Regions from separate parts of the Homo sapiens genome. Here region 2 is linked to region 1. The links are contacts of gene promoters, found by promoter capture Hi-C in blood cells and fetal thymus (Javierre and others, 2016). All regions are on one chromosome and are shown on one strand. Each heading gives the region's core, a stretch centred on a gene start or on the middle of the fragment in contact. The rest is flanking DNA. Distances are from core to core; before and after follow the strand shown.

Region 1 (7,750 bases), core at 1,534-4,033:
TGGTCAGGCGGGCAGACTTGTGTTTGAGTCCCGGCTGGCTCTACTGCTTTTGTGACCTTGGGTATGTTGCCTAACCTCTCTAAGCTTTGGTTTCCTAGTCAGTAAAAAGAGCCTAAGAATAGAACCTACTTTGGAGGGATGCCATGAAAATTAAATAAGATGATCCATGTAAAATGCTTGGCACAGAACCTGGACATAATCAAAATACAATGGGGGAGGAGCTGCTATAATAATGACTATTGTTGGAGTCCAGAGGCCGGAGACAGTGGCACAGAACAGAGGGCTAGGTCGGTGGGGAGTCGAGAAAGTCTTCCTGGGAAACCTGAGTTTTGTCCTGGAGCTTGAAGAGGTGGTCAGGTGAAATCAATAGCAAGGCATAGAGATGTAGGTAGGCAGGGCTTATGTAATGGAGTGAGATTTCAAATGCCCTATCACTTTCAAAGAAAAATCTGGTTTGATCTGTGGTTGAAGTAGAGAAGGAAGTTGACTATGGGGAAGAGGTGGGAAAGAGATGAGGTCTTCCATCCTTGTTTCCAAACCCAAAATGTGAACAGAGACAAACCTCAGGGACCTAAACAAGAAATCTGACATCCAGGGCTTCTTTGCCCACTTCTGGGCTGTTGTGGGAGGAGAAGGGGTAAGAGCCTGGGAAATGGCTGAGGGCAGAGCTGGTGGCGGATGGGGACAGGACCTGAAACAAGGGAAGTTAGGAAATGTGGGCGAGGCCCTTAATGACTGTGTGGGCTGACTCATGTGGGAGACCTAGCTTCAAGGCCGCATGGAGATCCAGCATCCTGTCAGGCGGGAGGCCAATTTCAAGACCCTGGGCATCTCTAGTCTAAACGGTTGCCAGCTAAGAGTGGGAGTCCTTAGGGGAGCAATCCTTGTGCTAATCCAATTATTCCCTAACAGCCTGCCTTATCTCCCGGATGTGAAGATGAACTCCTTAGGAGCCAGGTTCTCCAGGAAGGATGCTGCTTGTTTCAGATGCTCTATGTTTTTGTTTTGTTTTGTTTTGTTTTGTTTTGTAGAGACGGAGTCTTCCTCTGTCACCCAGGCTGGAGTGCAGTGGCGCAATTTTGGCTCGCTGCAACTTCTGCCTCCTGGGTTCAAGCAATTCTCCTACCCCAGCCTCCCGAGTAGCTGGGATTACAGGCGCACGCCGCCACACCCAGCTAATTTCTTTTGTATTTTAGTAGAGACGGGATTTCACCTTGTTGCCCAGGTTGGTCTCGAACTCCTGAGCTCAGGCAATCCGCCCGCCTCGGCCTCCCAAAGTGCTAGGATTACAGGCATGAGCCACCGCGTCTGGCCCAGACGCTCTATGCTTAAACATCTGCCAAATACCTGCTGTCAACCACTTATGTCGAGCATCATGTGGGCCTTGTCAAAAATGCTAATCCTCAGTTCTTTTCCCTAGAATCTGATTCCATGGGTTTAGGGATTCGGGAATCTATTTTCTAACAAGCATCCAGGTGATTCTTCAGGAAAGGCAAATTTGGAAAAGGCTGACTTGGTAGTCTCTTAAATTCCCTTCAGTCCTAAATCTAGGCAGCAGAGAGCGGGTAGCGGGAAGGGCCCCTGGATGATAGCAAGAGGCCGATTCTAGCCGGACCCTGCAGTTCACATGGCCCTGTGCTGGGGAAGCCCTAGAAGGGAAGGAGGCTGCAGAGAAGGGAGTTTTCACCCATCAGTAATCAAGGTCCCAACAGAAGTGAAAATGGAAGTCAGGGAACAATTGGTTTTGAGCATCTTCGTGGGGCTTTTTCCCTTGCCTGGGACTGGCAGGACAGTGTAGGTCTGAGCAGCTTCCACGATACACACGGGGACACTTAAGCCCAAAGAATTTTTAAAACGTGCCTAAATTCCACAACTAATCAGAGGAGGCAGCAATCCAGATCTCCTGGTCTTCACCCTTCTTATTGTTGGGGTGCACCGCAGGGCACGCATGTTTCCTTGTGGCTTGTGGGAAAGCCACTGTCGTGGAGCGCCAGCGTCCCGAGTCCCTGGAAATTCTCCCAAGTGACCTGGAATCCAACATTTCCCTGGATTTTCATAGTCTATAATAGAGAGAAAGAACCGGGTCTGCGGTGGTGGGCAGGACTGAGGAAAGGCCGTGAATGCGGGAAGCACGGGAGGCAGGACTGAAAAGGAAAGAGGCACAGGGGCTCACAAAACCTGAGGGCCGCGTCCCAGTGGGTGACCTGACCCATCAAGGTCTAACACCTGGCCGTGGCAAAGCTGGGCGAGAACCCCCGATCCACCCTCCCAGTGTGGGGCAGGGAAAAGGCAGAGTGCAAAGCGAGGTCTGATTTTGCAGAAGCTTTTTAGAAATTCGCTGTCAGAGAAACTGAAAGACCAAACAAAACCCCTAAAAATCCAAGCCCGATTATTTCATCCACGTGGCACAAAAGCAAGCCAAAAAAAAAAAAGCGGGGGGGGGGGGTGGCGGTGCAGGGCGGGGGAAGAGTCACCCGTCCTGCCCCTGCTGGAAGGAAGGGATTTGCCCCGGGAGAGCAAACTTCTGACTCCGCCTGGGTCGCTGACTCCGCGCGGCCGGGCGGGAGGGAGGTCGAGGAGGCCGCTCGCACAAAGCCGCGGAGCCGCTGCCCCCTCTCCCCGCCCCCTGCCCGGCCAACGCCGAAGTGCGGAGAGCAGCCGCGGGCCCTTTAAGGGCCGCGAGGTGCGCGGTCTCTTTAAGGCGGGTCCTGGTGGTTTCTGTTTTCTGAAGGAAGTGACGGGGGGTGGGATTGAATGAAAAGTGCAAAACACAGGCTCGCAGCGCTGGAGCCCGGGGCCGCGGAGCCGGGCCGGGGCAGCGCCGTCTCCGCCTCGGGGCCGCCGGGGGCGCCCTGCTGAGCGCTACCCACGTGCGTCCGCGCCACCTCGCGGGCGACCCCGCGGCCAAGGCCCCCGGCGGAGCGGCTCCCGGGCGCCCCGAACTAGCCCCCAACTTTGGGCGAAGTTTGCCTGCGCCTCTCCCCGCCCCCACGCGGCGCGCCGGGGCCGCGGACGGCAGCGGCCCCCGGGGATGCGCCTTCCCGGGGTACCCCTGGCGCGCCCTGCGCTGCTGCTGCTGCTGCCGCTGCTCGCGCCGCTGCTGGGAACGGGTGCGCCGGCCGAGCTGCGGGTCCGCGTGCGGCTGCCGGACGGCCAGGTGACCGAGGAGAGCCTGCAGGCGGACAGCGACGCGGACAGCATCAGCCTCGAGCTGCGCAAGCCCGACGGCACCCTCGTCTCCTTCACCGCCGACTTCAAGAAGGTGAGGCGCCCTCACTCGCCGGGGTGGCACCTTCAAGCCTGAGCCCCCCGGGATCCCAGGCGCTCTCTTGCCTGCAGACGGAAAGACGGGCCCAGGAGGGAGACGCAGCTGGCCCAAGGTCACGCCGGGCTCTTCTCTACACCTCTTTGCCCACTCCCCAGGGCCCACCCCTTCATTCTCTCCAAAGAACCCCTCTGCTTCCCTTTCTCACTCCCTCCTCCAGCGCTCCCAGAGCCCCCCAGGTGCTAACCCTCCTCCAGAACTCCTACTAACGACTGGACTCCCTTCTTGGAGTCATTCCCCTGTGCTCTAGTGGGAAAGTCCTAGGCGAAGTGTTCTCGCTGTGGGCTCTCACTGTGGGTTCTCCCTGTGTGATCTAGAGCAAGCAAGCCTCTTTCCTCCTATGGGCCTGGCTTCTCACCCCTGTACAGGGCACTGAGGGGTCTGCGAGGCCTCCCAGCCCTGACATTTTGGAGTCCCTCTGTCACCTCTCCCTCTGTTTCACTTTTCTGGGGAGAGCTGGTTGCCCCTGGTCCCTCTCAAGCCGGGAGAAGCCCTGTCTCCTCTTTGGTCTGGAAGGCTGGGGCGCTTGCAGCAGGAGGATCCTGGAGAGAGACCCCAGCTGAGGCCCCCTCCCTCTGGGAGAAGTGCTGCCCTTCACTCTGCCTGGCAGAGAAGCGAGCCAACCCCCCTATTTTGGCCCAGATTAGGGTTAGGGAGTTAGAGACCAGCCCGGTGGGTGGGTGGGTGGGTGGGTGTGGGTGTGTGGGTGTGTGTCCCAGATTACGGTTTGGGAGTTAGAGACCAGCCCGCTCTTGGTGTGTGTGTGTCTGTGTTGGAGGGAATAAGAAGGGCCTTGCACCCAGGGGGCTGGGGGATTATCAGGAAATGGGCCTGGATGGTGAGTGACTAACAGTGACCCAGCAGCAGGAAAGCTGGAGGAAAAGAGGGTGGGTAAGTCTTAGGTATTCAAAAGGAGCGTTCTGTCTCCTTCCCCCAGCTAAAGAGAGGCCCTGTGAGGCTCTGTCCCTGGGGGAGTGCAGGGGTGAAGCCGATTAGATAGCTGGGGGAGCCCGGGGCCCCGGGGACCCTTGCTGAAGCTGCCTGTCTTTCCTCCCTCGTAGAGACAGGGCGCTTTAGAGGAGAGGTGGCGGAGTTTGGGAAGTCAGTTAGGGACCCAGCCAGATTGCCATAGTTAGCAGGGGTGAGGGGTTAGGCTTGACCGCTAGAGGTGGGTGGGGTTGGGGGGTGAGGCTTGACCGCTGATTGCCCCAGGGCCACGGAGTTGGCACTGACATTGGACATAAGCAGGCAGATGGGGGGTGGGGTAGTGAGCGTTCACAAATGGGAAGACTTTGTAGCCCATCCTTACTCCGCAGGCCTAAGCTAGGCACCCTGCCTCCCCACCTAAACCCTAGGAGAATTTTATCAAGTGTGTTCTGTTCCTGAAAAATCTATGTTAGTGGCTGGATCCATCAGGAATCGGGGATCTAATCTTCTGTCCAAGCCCTTTGTCCTTGAAAGTTAGCCTTAGGCCAGGCTGTGAGGCTCCCAACCCCCTGCCCACTGGATGTCATCTTGTGGCTGCACTAGAATCCTGCAGAGAGACTTCCCTGGCTGTGGCCAGGACAGTGAAAGGCAATGGGTAGGGCTGAGCTTTTATAGCCTTTAGCTACATCTGGAAGGTTTTTATTGCTGTGATCTGAAGGGAGAGGCTAAGAAGTACCCAGGTAGCTGTGATGTGCTGGCAGTAGTGGCTGATGGCGGGGGTGGGGTGCTGGGGATTGGAGTGAGGGTATGCTGGTCATCTGACTGCCCAGTTAGAAAATGCATCTGGAGATTGTGAGCACCTCATTTGAATCTCTACAGTGGTTCAGACCTCCACCCAGGTTTCTAAAGTCTGATTTTCAGGTTAGCCTCTGACCCAGAAGCTACCATTTCATACCCACCTCTGGCATCTCCAATTTCATCAGCAAGGGAGGGAATTGGGAGTGGAAGACACCGAAAGGAAACCAGCTTTCCCAAGTCCCTTTAACTCCAGGTTTCTCCATTGGCCTAGGACGGGGTGGAGTTGGAGAGTGCAGTGTGGGGGAGAATAGCCTTACCCTCACCCAGGCCACTCACTCACTGCCTGCACTGGCCACAGCAGCTTCTATGTCCAGATCCTTCTAGGGTGGGTCACCTCTCAGTTCTCAAGGCCCCATGCCTCATAGTGTTTGTCAGATTTCCATAAGAAAGTTTGGTCTAGAAGGAATGATTTTTCCTATAAGAAAAAGACTTCGGCTCGGTGTGGTGGCTCACATCTGTAATCCCAGGATTTGGGGAGGCTGAGGCAGGCTTATCGCTTGAAACCAGGAATATGAAATCTTCAGGCCAAACGAGACCCCTGTCTCTACAAAAAATTTAAAAATTAGCGGAGCACGCTGGTGTGTGCCTTGTAGTCCCAGCTATTCAAGGAGGCTGAGGCAGGAAAACCACTTGAGCCCAGGAGCTGAGGCTGCACTGAGCTGCAATTGTACTACTGCACTCCAGCCTGGGAAGTCACGCTTTTTGTGTTTCTTGTACCAAACTCATTTGCAGTGATTTGGGAAAAGTCCTCATCTACTTGGGAAGAGCCTTGTTTGCCATTTGATCACGTTGGGGAGAACAGTCCAGACTGAATGAGACAGACTTGGTTTACCACTTATTAGCAGGTTCACCCTGGGCAAGCTACTTGATCTCTCCAGACCTTCATTTCTTCATCTATAAAATGGGGATAATAATAGCACATATCCCACAGTTAGTAGTGCCTATGACATCCTTACTCTGTATTAGATACTGTGTTAAGGGCTCAAGACATAGGAGCTGTTAGCTTTGCAATTGTGGCTCACACAGCATTTCAGCAAGGATCCTCTCTGCTAAACTTGGACTCAAAGACATTGAACAACGGACCCAAGGTCATGCAGAAAAGTCAGTACTGAGCCTGGAGGATCCTTGAGCTCTTCATCTTAACCTTCTCCTTGAAGTGCCAAAATTGCTGGCCAGCCCCTCAGAGCAGGAGCAGCCATCCTTGTCCTGACAGTCCACCCAGGGCAGCAGTGAGCCTCCCTGTGTGGGATGGGACCAAGGCTTCTGTCTGATTCCCAACCCTATCCAGCCCCCTCTCTCCAGCCCTTCCCACCTGTTTGCCTCTACCCGCGTCAGAGTTCTGACAGTCTAACTCTCTCCCACACTACTGCTCTGGACCTTGACGCAGCAAAGCAGTCACAGTCGTCAACCCACTGGAGGACACATAGCCTGGAGCCCAGGTGAGGCTTGCAGACTCAGTAGCTTGGAGCTATCAGATGGCCATCCTGCATTACTGCAAGCCCTGCCCAGAGGCTGAGTGAAGGCCATCAGGCTGACCGAGCCACAGCTCTGAAAGAATGCCGCAGCTCAGTGGCTCCCAGCTTTGCCGCACCTCACAATCACCTGGGGAGCTTTGAAAATTCCCACTGCCTGGGCTGCACACCCTACCAGTGAAATCAGAATATCTCAGGGTGGGAGTCAGGCAGCAGTCGTTTTGGTTTTGTTTTTTCTTTTAAAGAACCCAGGTGATGTAATCCCAGCACTTTGGGAGGCTGAGGCAGGCGGATCACAAGGTCAGCAGTTCGAGACCAGCCTGGCCAATATGGCGAAACCCCGTCTCTACTAAAAAATAAAAAATAAAAAAAAATTAGCTGGGCATGGTGGCATGCACCTGTAGTCCCAGCCACTCAGGAGGCTGAGGCAGGAGAATCGCTTGAATCCAGGAAGCGGAGGTTGCAGTGAGCCTGGATCGCGCCACTGCACTCCAGTCTGGGTGACAAAAGAACCCAGGTGATTCCAGTGTGCAGCAAAGTTTGGGAACCACTGGCGCAGTTGCTCTAGGGGAGGGGAGGGGACCTGGAGAAGGAGCCAGCTCAGGTTAAATGAGGGTAGGGCCCAAACTCAGTCACATATTTGAAACCTGTCATCTTACCCACACTAATCCTAATGTGTTTTGAGCAGCACATATACTTCGGGCCTAATGCTGTGTGCCCTCAGTACACAAACTAATTCACAGCGCGCCCTTGGTGGGCAACACTCTCCTTTATACTCCACATCCTATGGGTGTAATTAGCCCTGGATGTACATAATCACTGGCATATCTAATCATAGGTGTGTCACCATCCCCTCTCCCTAAACTGGCTATTTGACAGCCCTTCTGGTCTACCTCCTGGAAGCTGGTATTCTTGCCAGTTTCTCTTTCACCTCTGTCCCCTAGTCCGAGTGGCCAAAAGCTGGGAAGAGGATGAGTCACGCTCCAGGCTGCCTGCCTTGGGGCTGACCGGATGGGGAGGGTGATACTGACAGATATGAAGAAGGTCATGTGTGATGGCATCACGGTGGTGGGCGGTGGGGGTCCCTTTCCCCTCCCAGCATCAGGGAGGATAGGGAGACACAGACTCCAAAAGTGTGGAAGGAGGGGATCCTGAAGGCCCACAGCTG
Region 2 (7,750 bases), core at 3,361-5,860, 110 kb after region 1:
GCCACTGCACTCCGGCCTGGGCGACAGAGCGAGACTCCGTCTCAAAAAATAAAATAAGTAATAAATAGTTACCATTACTGAGATAAACGCTGACCTGTGGGAAAGAGAGGCCCTTCAAAAATGTAATGGCTGATGGGGAAAAACTAAAATTAGGATTAAACACTTCTTGCAAATAATAATATCCACACAGGAAACCTAAATATTAATAATGAAGAGTTAACCGCTCCCTGATGTTTGAATGGGGCTTTAAAAATTCCTATTTCACGTCATGAAGTGGGAGAAGGCCTAATGGTAATGTTTACTTTCTCAAGAAAATATCTAGTTAAAAGGGGCCAGGTATGTAGCAAAGAGACAGCAAGAGGAGCCTTCCGCAGTACTTTAAGTAACTAAGGGGACTGCTCCACCACCCATGAGCCCATCTGTGCATATCTCTGCACACATACACATGCATGCATGCATTCCTCCCTGTATGCCCATGGATGCTAGAGCTGACCCTTTTCTACAGAAGTCCTGGCTACCTTGACATCCTACTCAGGTGAGTGCTGAAAGCTGATCCTCTGCATTGTCCAAAACTTGGATTTTCATCCATTTGCCCGTGATTTTTTATGAAAGAAATAAACAGAATTGTAGCCTGTTCAGACTCCAGTAGCTTTCCTTGCCAACTAACTTGGACATTGCTGAACAGAATCAAGCCTGAAAGTGAGCAAGGTCACCTTTCATGTCTGCATGATTCTGTAAAATCTGTAATTCCAGGGAAGTTTAACTGAAGCTTGATTCGCCGCCTCAGCATCTAACTAGGGACAAGAGAATCTGAGGGCAACCACCAGTCATTGCCAAGGGAGGAAAAAAAAAAGATTGTTGTTGCTACATTTCAAATTGTATTTTTTTTTTTTTTGACATGGTGTCTCACTCTGTCACCCAGGCTGGAGTGCAGTGGCACGATCTCGGCTCACTGCAATCTCCGCCCCCCAGATTCACGCCATTCTCCTGCCTCAGCCTCCTGAGTAGCTGGGACTACAGGCGCCCGCCACCACGCCCAGCTAATTTTTTCTATTTTTCAGTAGAGACGGGATTTCACCATGTTAGCCAGGATGGTCTCGATCTCCTGACCGCGTGATCCGCCTGCCTTGGCCTCCGAAAGTGCTGGGATTACAGGCGTGAGCCACCGCGCCCAACCGAACTGTATTTCATACTCTGATGTTTAGTTGACTCAAAACGGGTGGGCCCAGCTCTGCCCTCCTAAGACAAAGTAAGAACTTTTGGTCTGACTCAGAGACTGAGTTTATTAACCCTAGGACTCAAAGCAGGAACCCTGGCCGGAGCTCCCAGGTTGCCAGGGTTCCTCTTGTGCTCTGTGTGGCCCCACCATAGCTCACCTGCTGACTCTTCTGCCTCTTCCTTCTGTGGGGGGAACTCCTTGCAGTTGAGGCTTTTTTTTTTTTTTTCTGTATCCCTGTGGCTAACATTGTGACTAGCACATAACAGGCAGTTATGTTTTTTAAATATAAAATTCCCTTTTTTTCCCTCTAAATTTTTAATGCCCTTCACTGAGATAGGAGTTGTGAATACAGCAGAATACAGTGCAAACCTGCAGGAATTTTTAGGTAAGTGGAGGCAGCATATCACAGTGGTTAAGGGCATTGTCATGCCAGACCCCTATTGACTTCAGGAGGGATAGCACCAGATTCAAGAGGCCAGAGACCAAGAGCCAACAAATGCGACATAGGGTTTGTTGAGGGGAACTTACATAAGAGGGATCCGGTGGCAACAGGCTGGACAGGAGAACCACCACTGCCTGCAGAAAGCACGCAGTTTACATGGCACTCTCATCTAACACCCTCCCGCTAACAACCTCCACCTGGCAACCTTCATTTACCCCAAAACAAAGGGCCTCAGCCCCCTGTATGGCCCATGTTCCAAGGGCTGGGCCAGGGGCTCAGATGTTCCTCATACATAAGGAATAATCTCTGGGTTGGCCACGCTTGGAACACTAGACACACATTCAGGTGTGTCTGCCACACAGGGTCATTCTCAGGTTATACTTAAGTTACCGCTGTCAGGTGCATCTGCCATACAGGCGTGATCTCCAGAGTCATATTGCCTGGGTTTGTACCCTACTCTGCCTCCTACTAACCGTGTCATCTTGGGAAAGCCTTGACTGCTCCATGACTCAGTTTCTCACCTGTAAAATGGAGATAACAATAGGTCCCATCCCATAGAATTGTTTGTGAGGATTGAGTGTGTGTATATATATATGTGTGTGTATGTGTATGCATATATATGTGTGTGTGTGTATACATATATATGTATATGTGTATATATATGTGTGTGTGTGTGTGTATATATATATATATGTAGTGCTTGGAACAATGCCTGGTACATTAATAAGGGCAGTATAGGTGTTATTTGTTATTATTGTGATTATTATTCTCATTGCTATTAAATTGGTGGAGAGCTTCCTGTCCCCTGCTCTCCTTAACAGCCCAGAATTTCTGGGGGATGCTACCGGTGACAAGGATCTGATTTGGTGGAACAGGGATTGTGGCCAAAGATACATACATCAACAAAATTTAATCCTAGGTCATGAAGCTTGAACCTAGAATCCCAGTCACCCTAGGATAAAGGCCCAATATTTTAGGAAGAACTGGCTCCTTCCCTTTTACCTTACCCCCTCAGCCTTTAGGCTCCTGAAGGCTTTAGTACCCTACTTTTGTGGGAAATGATGGCAGCAAGAAGAAAGTCCAGATTCAGATACTAGAAAAAAAATACTGCAACAAAACAAATGGGGGAAAGGGTGAGCTCTGCATACTCTCCATTCAGTGAAGTGGAGCCTTCCATGTTTTACTTCTCCAGACTATCATTACCTGTTATCCGGTCTATCCTAACACATGTGTAACAGGCCTTCTGCAATTCATCTTACACTGATTTTAATTGAGTATTGCTAGAGCTGGGGTTCTCAACTTTGGTTGCACATTGGAATCACCCAGGGAGCTTTTAAATTGATTGATATCTACACAGAGATTCTGATTTACTTTTTTCGGAGTGTGCCCTGGGTATTAGGATTTTAAATAGCTCCCAAGTGATACTACCATGCTATCAAGATTAAGAACTACGACCCAAATGTGTATACGAATCACTGGGGAACTTGTTAAAATGCACATTCTAGTTTGGTAGGTCCAGGGGTAGGTTCTGAGATTCTGAGTCTCTAATGAACTCCAAGGTGATGCAGATTTTGCTGGTCCATAGACCACACTTTGAGTAGCAAGGGCTTGGAGAGCATGATAATATGATTCCCTTGTTCAATAACATCATGAGCTTCCACATAATAAGCTCTCTCAGCCTGGCATCTTAGGCTGGCATCAGAGGCATTTAAGGACTCTAACAGCAATGGTTATCAAATGTGATCGTCTGAATGACTCCTGGGCAGGTTTTAAAAAATACAGATCCCTGGACCCCATACCAGACCTAATAAATCATAATATTCAAGGTACAGCCTGCACAGGGTATTTGAAAACACTTCCCAAGTGGCATAGTTGATCAACACACTTTAGGAACTGTGATATGCTTCCAAGATAGTTTCCCAGGCTCATTTCACATTAATTCAACATACAAACATTTATTGTACCTGCCTCATGCTAGGTACTAGGGAAACAAAGATGAAACCAGTGCCATCCTTACCTTTGAAGAGTTGGTAAGATAAATGACCAAAACTAGAATATTTACTATTCCCCAGGCACGGCCTAAACACTCACACCTCTGCTAACGGTCTTCTCCTTTGAGAATGTCTAGGTTCCTCAGCACCCGGGATTGCCTGTCCTGATCAATCAAGACAGACACCGTCTTTACCCCATTCGAGCCTCCATTCTTATCGCTCAAACTTACTCTGCTTGGTATTAAAATAGAACCAGAGAAGAAAAGGATTTACCCAAAGTGAAATAAAACAGTTGGTATTTATGTAGTGACTTCCATGTGCCAGTCATTGTTCAAAGCACTTTACACATGTAATATTTTAAAATTCTCAAAATAACCATATGAGATAGGTGTTATTACTATCCCCATCCTCAGGATCGAGGAAAGGGAGGCAACAGAAAAGTAACTTGCCCAAAGAGGTACCAAGCAAGGTTCACTTTCAAGCCTTATGCTTTACTGTCAAGTTGGTTACAGGGCTGACTGGAATACTGTAACTTCTAATTCTCAGGCCTGAGCACTTTCCTGCTCATCAATTCCTGTTTCACGACTTAAATTCAAGCACGAGGGCAAGAACGATGTCTTACATCCCCCACAATGCCTAGTAAGGGTGCAAGTACTTAGTAGGTACTCGATAAATTGATTGGATGAGCTGTCCCATTGAGGGGAGGGGAGAAGTGGATAATGATTTAAACAAACAACAACAGCTAAACAAGAGCAGCGGCCTCCAGGTCTCACGTCACCGCTAGATCCCTCTTGACCCCCCCGCCAGAGAAGGAGGACCCTCCCGCGCCCTTTCGGAGCGTCGGTGGCCCGGCTCCGGCTCTGCGCTCCATCCTCCCAGCCAGCAGGTGCCCCCAGACCCCCGGCTCCTCCTCCGCCGCCGTCACAGCCTCGTCCTCCGCCTCTGGCTCCTCCGCTTCCTGTTGCCGCGATCCGGGCCGGGAGCTGCGGGCGCCCGGGCGCCCGAGGCTTCCCGGTGCGCTCCGCCAGGTAACCGCTCGGCGCGAACTGCCCGGCCGGGGTGGGCACGGGGCCCGCGCGGCCCATTGGTGGGGAAGGAGGCGGCAGAGGGCCCGGGCTCGCCTCCGAAGGGGAGCGGGCCTCCTCCTGCCTCGGACGCCCGAGGCCTTCCTGCGCCAGGCTGCGGCGCCAGCGGGATGCGGGGATAACGGTGCCTGGCTCCGGCTCTTGGTCCGGGCGTGGCCGAGCGTCGCAGGCACCGCCGCGCGGAGATGCGATCGCCGTCCCTGCGAGGCCCCGGGGCCCGCGCTCGCCGCCAGCCACGCCTGCTCCAAGGCTCCTCCTCGCCAGTCTGGCCCTGGAACGGGAGAAACCAGGAGAGGAGCCTTGGACCTCTGAGCCGCGATGGCCTTCCAAATGCCCTTCCGTTCTTTGGCAAAAACCAAGAGCAAAAAGCCGAAACCCACACAGGGAGTTCCCAAGGTCACAGAGTTGTGTCTGCCATTTACGAATGTCTGTTCTTTTATTTAAGTGTTTGTAAATGGGCTACTGTTTTCTCTGTTCTGCCAAGGAATTAGGATTCAGAGAAGAAGACTCTAAAAATACTAATAGGCATATCCAAATGAGCTGATCCGCATTACTGGCCAGTGACCCTGGCCTTTAGAAGGAGATAAGGGAGGGCAGTTCTCTTCACCTGGGATACTTTGTATTTCTGGCCCTTACTCTGAGAATTGGCCTTGATGTTTTACAAAGTTTATCTCAGAACTCCATGTCAGAACTGGACCGGACTGTAGAGTTCTTCAGTCCTAGTCTCTTTCTTTCCTTTCCCTTCCTCCCCTTCCTCTTCCTTCTTTTCTTTTCTTTAATTTCTTCTTTTTTTTTTTAACTGTGGTTCTAGAGGTTAAAGTGATTTGCCCACACTCTTATGGCTAGTCTCTCTAGGGACAGAGACAGAATTGGAACCCAGGTCTATTATGGACACCTACGGTTTTCTTGAATGGAAATCTGATTTCAGATGAAAGCTGTACAGAACTTGACCTTCATGAAGCCCTCTCTGGATAGCATTCTTGGGAAGTGGCTTGTGTATTGACGTCCACAGATAACTATTTCACTGGTCAGAATAAGGTTAAGCAATAAGCATAGCCATGCAGAAAATGTCTGCTGAGATGAAGTAGATATCTGATATGTTTTTGACTTTTTATTTGTACGTTTCAATGGAGGAGCTAATGAATACTAACTAATAACAACATCTTGCTCATTTAGATTTTAGTCCTGTGTGACTAAATTGACTCAGTTATAGTTGTTCTTGTCCTAACGTATTTGTCACCAGTAAAAGTTCCAAGGTACAGCTTTCTGGCTTCATTTCATTTTTAACTGAATAATTGCCTTAAGGATATTTTTAGATCTCAACAAAAACTCCCCTCCTCTTGAACCTTAGAATCCTTCTGCTTCACTCTTGGCAAATCTTTGGGTCGGATTTCAGAACTGAATAAAGCCAGGATTTCCCCCCAACCTCCAAGATGTCTGGACTCTTTGTTTAGTTCTGTATTTAAGTTTATCCCAAGTTTTGTTTTTGACTGATGAACCTGTGACCCAAATCCAAACCTCAGCTGAATTTAGTATCAGCTTAAAACCACATTAAACTGCCATGTGTCATGTGACCTCTAGCAGAAACCAACGTGGCAGTGTTCTGTTTTTTCATGAGTGCGTTTCATTGGGGTTTTTGAACTGTGAAGACATTATTTAATACATGTGCTTTATTTTCTGTGTATTATTGCCCAAGGTCAGTCATCGCTAGAGGGTTATTATTGACATTTACTCATCATAAAATGTGATGTCAGCCTACCAGCTCGGAGTGCAGTTCCTGGTTTCCAGTTTACAACATTGACCAGTTGCTAACATGTTATCTCTGAGGAACTTGGAATGATAAATACAGCCATACTTAAATAGAAGATTCTTGGCCGTGTAGATAAGGAAAATAAGATAAGGCAATATTTTTGAACTATTCTATAATAGAAATGAGGATATATACACAAAATGACCCAGTGCTGTTTTCTTAGGGTGCATCCTTTGTTTTTCTGGTTTTGGTCTTTTCATCACAGGATGGCATTAGCTCTGTGTCTGCAGGTGCTGTGCAGCCTGTGTGGCTGGCTCTCGCTCTATATTTCTTTCTGCCACCTGAATAAGCACCGAAGCTATGAGTGGAGCTGCCGCCTGGTCACCTTCACCCATGGAGTCCTCTCTATAGGCCTCTCCGCTTATATTGGCTTCATTGATGGCCCATGGCCTTTTACCCACCCAGGTAGGTAGGGGATTTTCCCTTAGGGATTTATGATTTGGGGGTAGTCTTAGAAGTATGGGACTTTTAAACAGAATTTGTACAATACTGAAGACTAATTCCCATTATAATTTTGTATTGGAATCCTTATTCTTCTTCATTGTTAACTCTGATATTGTTTATGTCACCTGTTGTTTCTGCTTTTCATAACTCTCTACTTTTAAAACAGATTTTAAATTGCTTGTTACAATTTAATTGGAAATACAAAAACTATAAAGCCAGTATCAACATCTTCCACTACCACCCCCGAAAAGACAAAAATAGAACTGTATCATACATATTTTTGGCAACTTGCAACTTTTACTTGACTGTCTATTCAAAAGACAGCATCTTTCCATGTCTATGTTAAGAGGATGAGATGTTCCTTATCCTTTTTGTTACTAGATGTACAAGTGTTACTTTCAGAAGTATGCAATTTTTTTTTTTTTGAGATGGAGTCTTGCTCTGTTGCCCAGGCTGGGGTGCAGTGGCTCAATCTCAGCAAGCTCCGCCTCCCAGGATCACGCCATTCTCCTGCCTCAGCCTCCCGAGTAGCTGGGACTACAGGTGCCCGCCACCATGCCCAGCTAATTTTTTTTGTATTTTTAGTAGAGATGGGGTTTCACTGTGTTAGTCAGGATGGTCTCGATCTCCTGACCTCGTGATCCACCCGCCTTGGCCTCCCAAAGTGCTGGGATTACAGGTGTGAGCCACCGCACCCGGCCAAGTATGCAAAAATTTTACCCCCTTGTATTAATTGGTTGGGGCTGCCATAACACAGTA

Evidence for each region. The method cuts DNA at HindIII sites, captures the fragments that hold promoters and counts their contacts. A CHiCAGO score of 5 or more calls a contact.
Region 2: the fragment with the promoter of TLCD5 here is called in contact with the fragment with the promoter of OAF in region 1 in 6 of 17 cell types (naive CD8 T cells, total CD8 T cells, erythroblasts and 3 more); the score reaches 8.2 in naive CD8 T cells.

What each region holds. Positions count from the first base shown.
Region 1 is chr11:120,208,249-120,215,998 of GRCh38, forward strand. OAF (out at first homolog) reads left to right here and starts at 2,784. Exons shown (of 4, transcript NM_178507.4): 1 at 2,784-3,262. The coding sequence starts at 3,032. RefSeq lists an enhancer at 1,537-2,078 and silencers at 2,412-2,671, 2,852-2,901, 2,992-3,101. The HindIII fragment of the contact is 5,525 bases long and covers 2,322-7,750 here.
Region 2 is chr11:120,320,689-120,328,438 of GRCh38, forward strand. TLCD5 (TLC domain containing 5) reads left to right here and starts at 4,611. Exons shown (of 3, transcript NM_001198671.2): 1 at 4,611-4,680; 2 at 6,753-6,952. The coding sequence starts at 6,754. RefSeq lists silencers at 2,024-2,183, 4,556-4,845, 4,916-4,975, an enhancer at 4,220-4,364 and a cis regulatory region at 4,292. The HindIII fragment of the contact is 8,838 bases long and covers 2,588-7,750 here.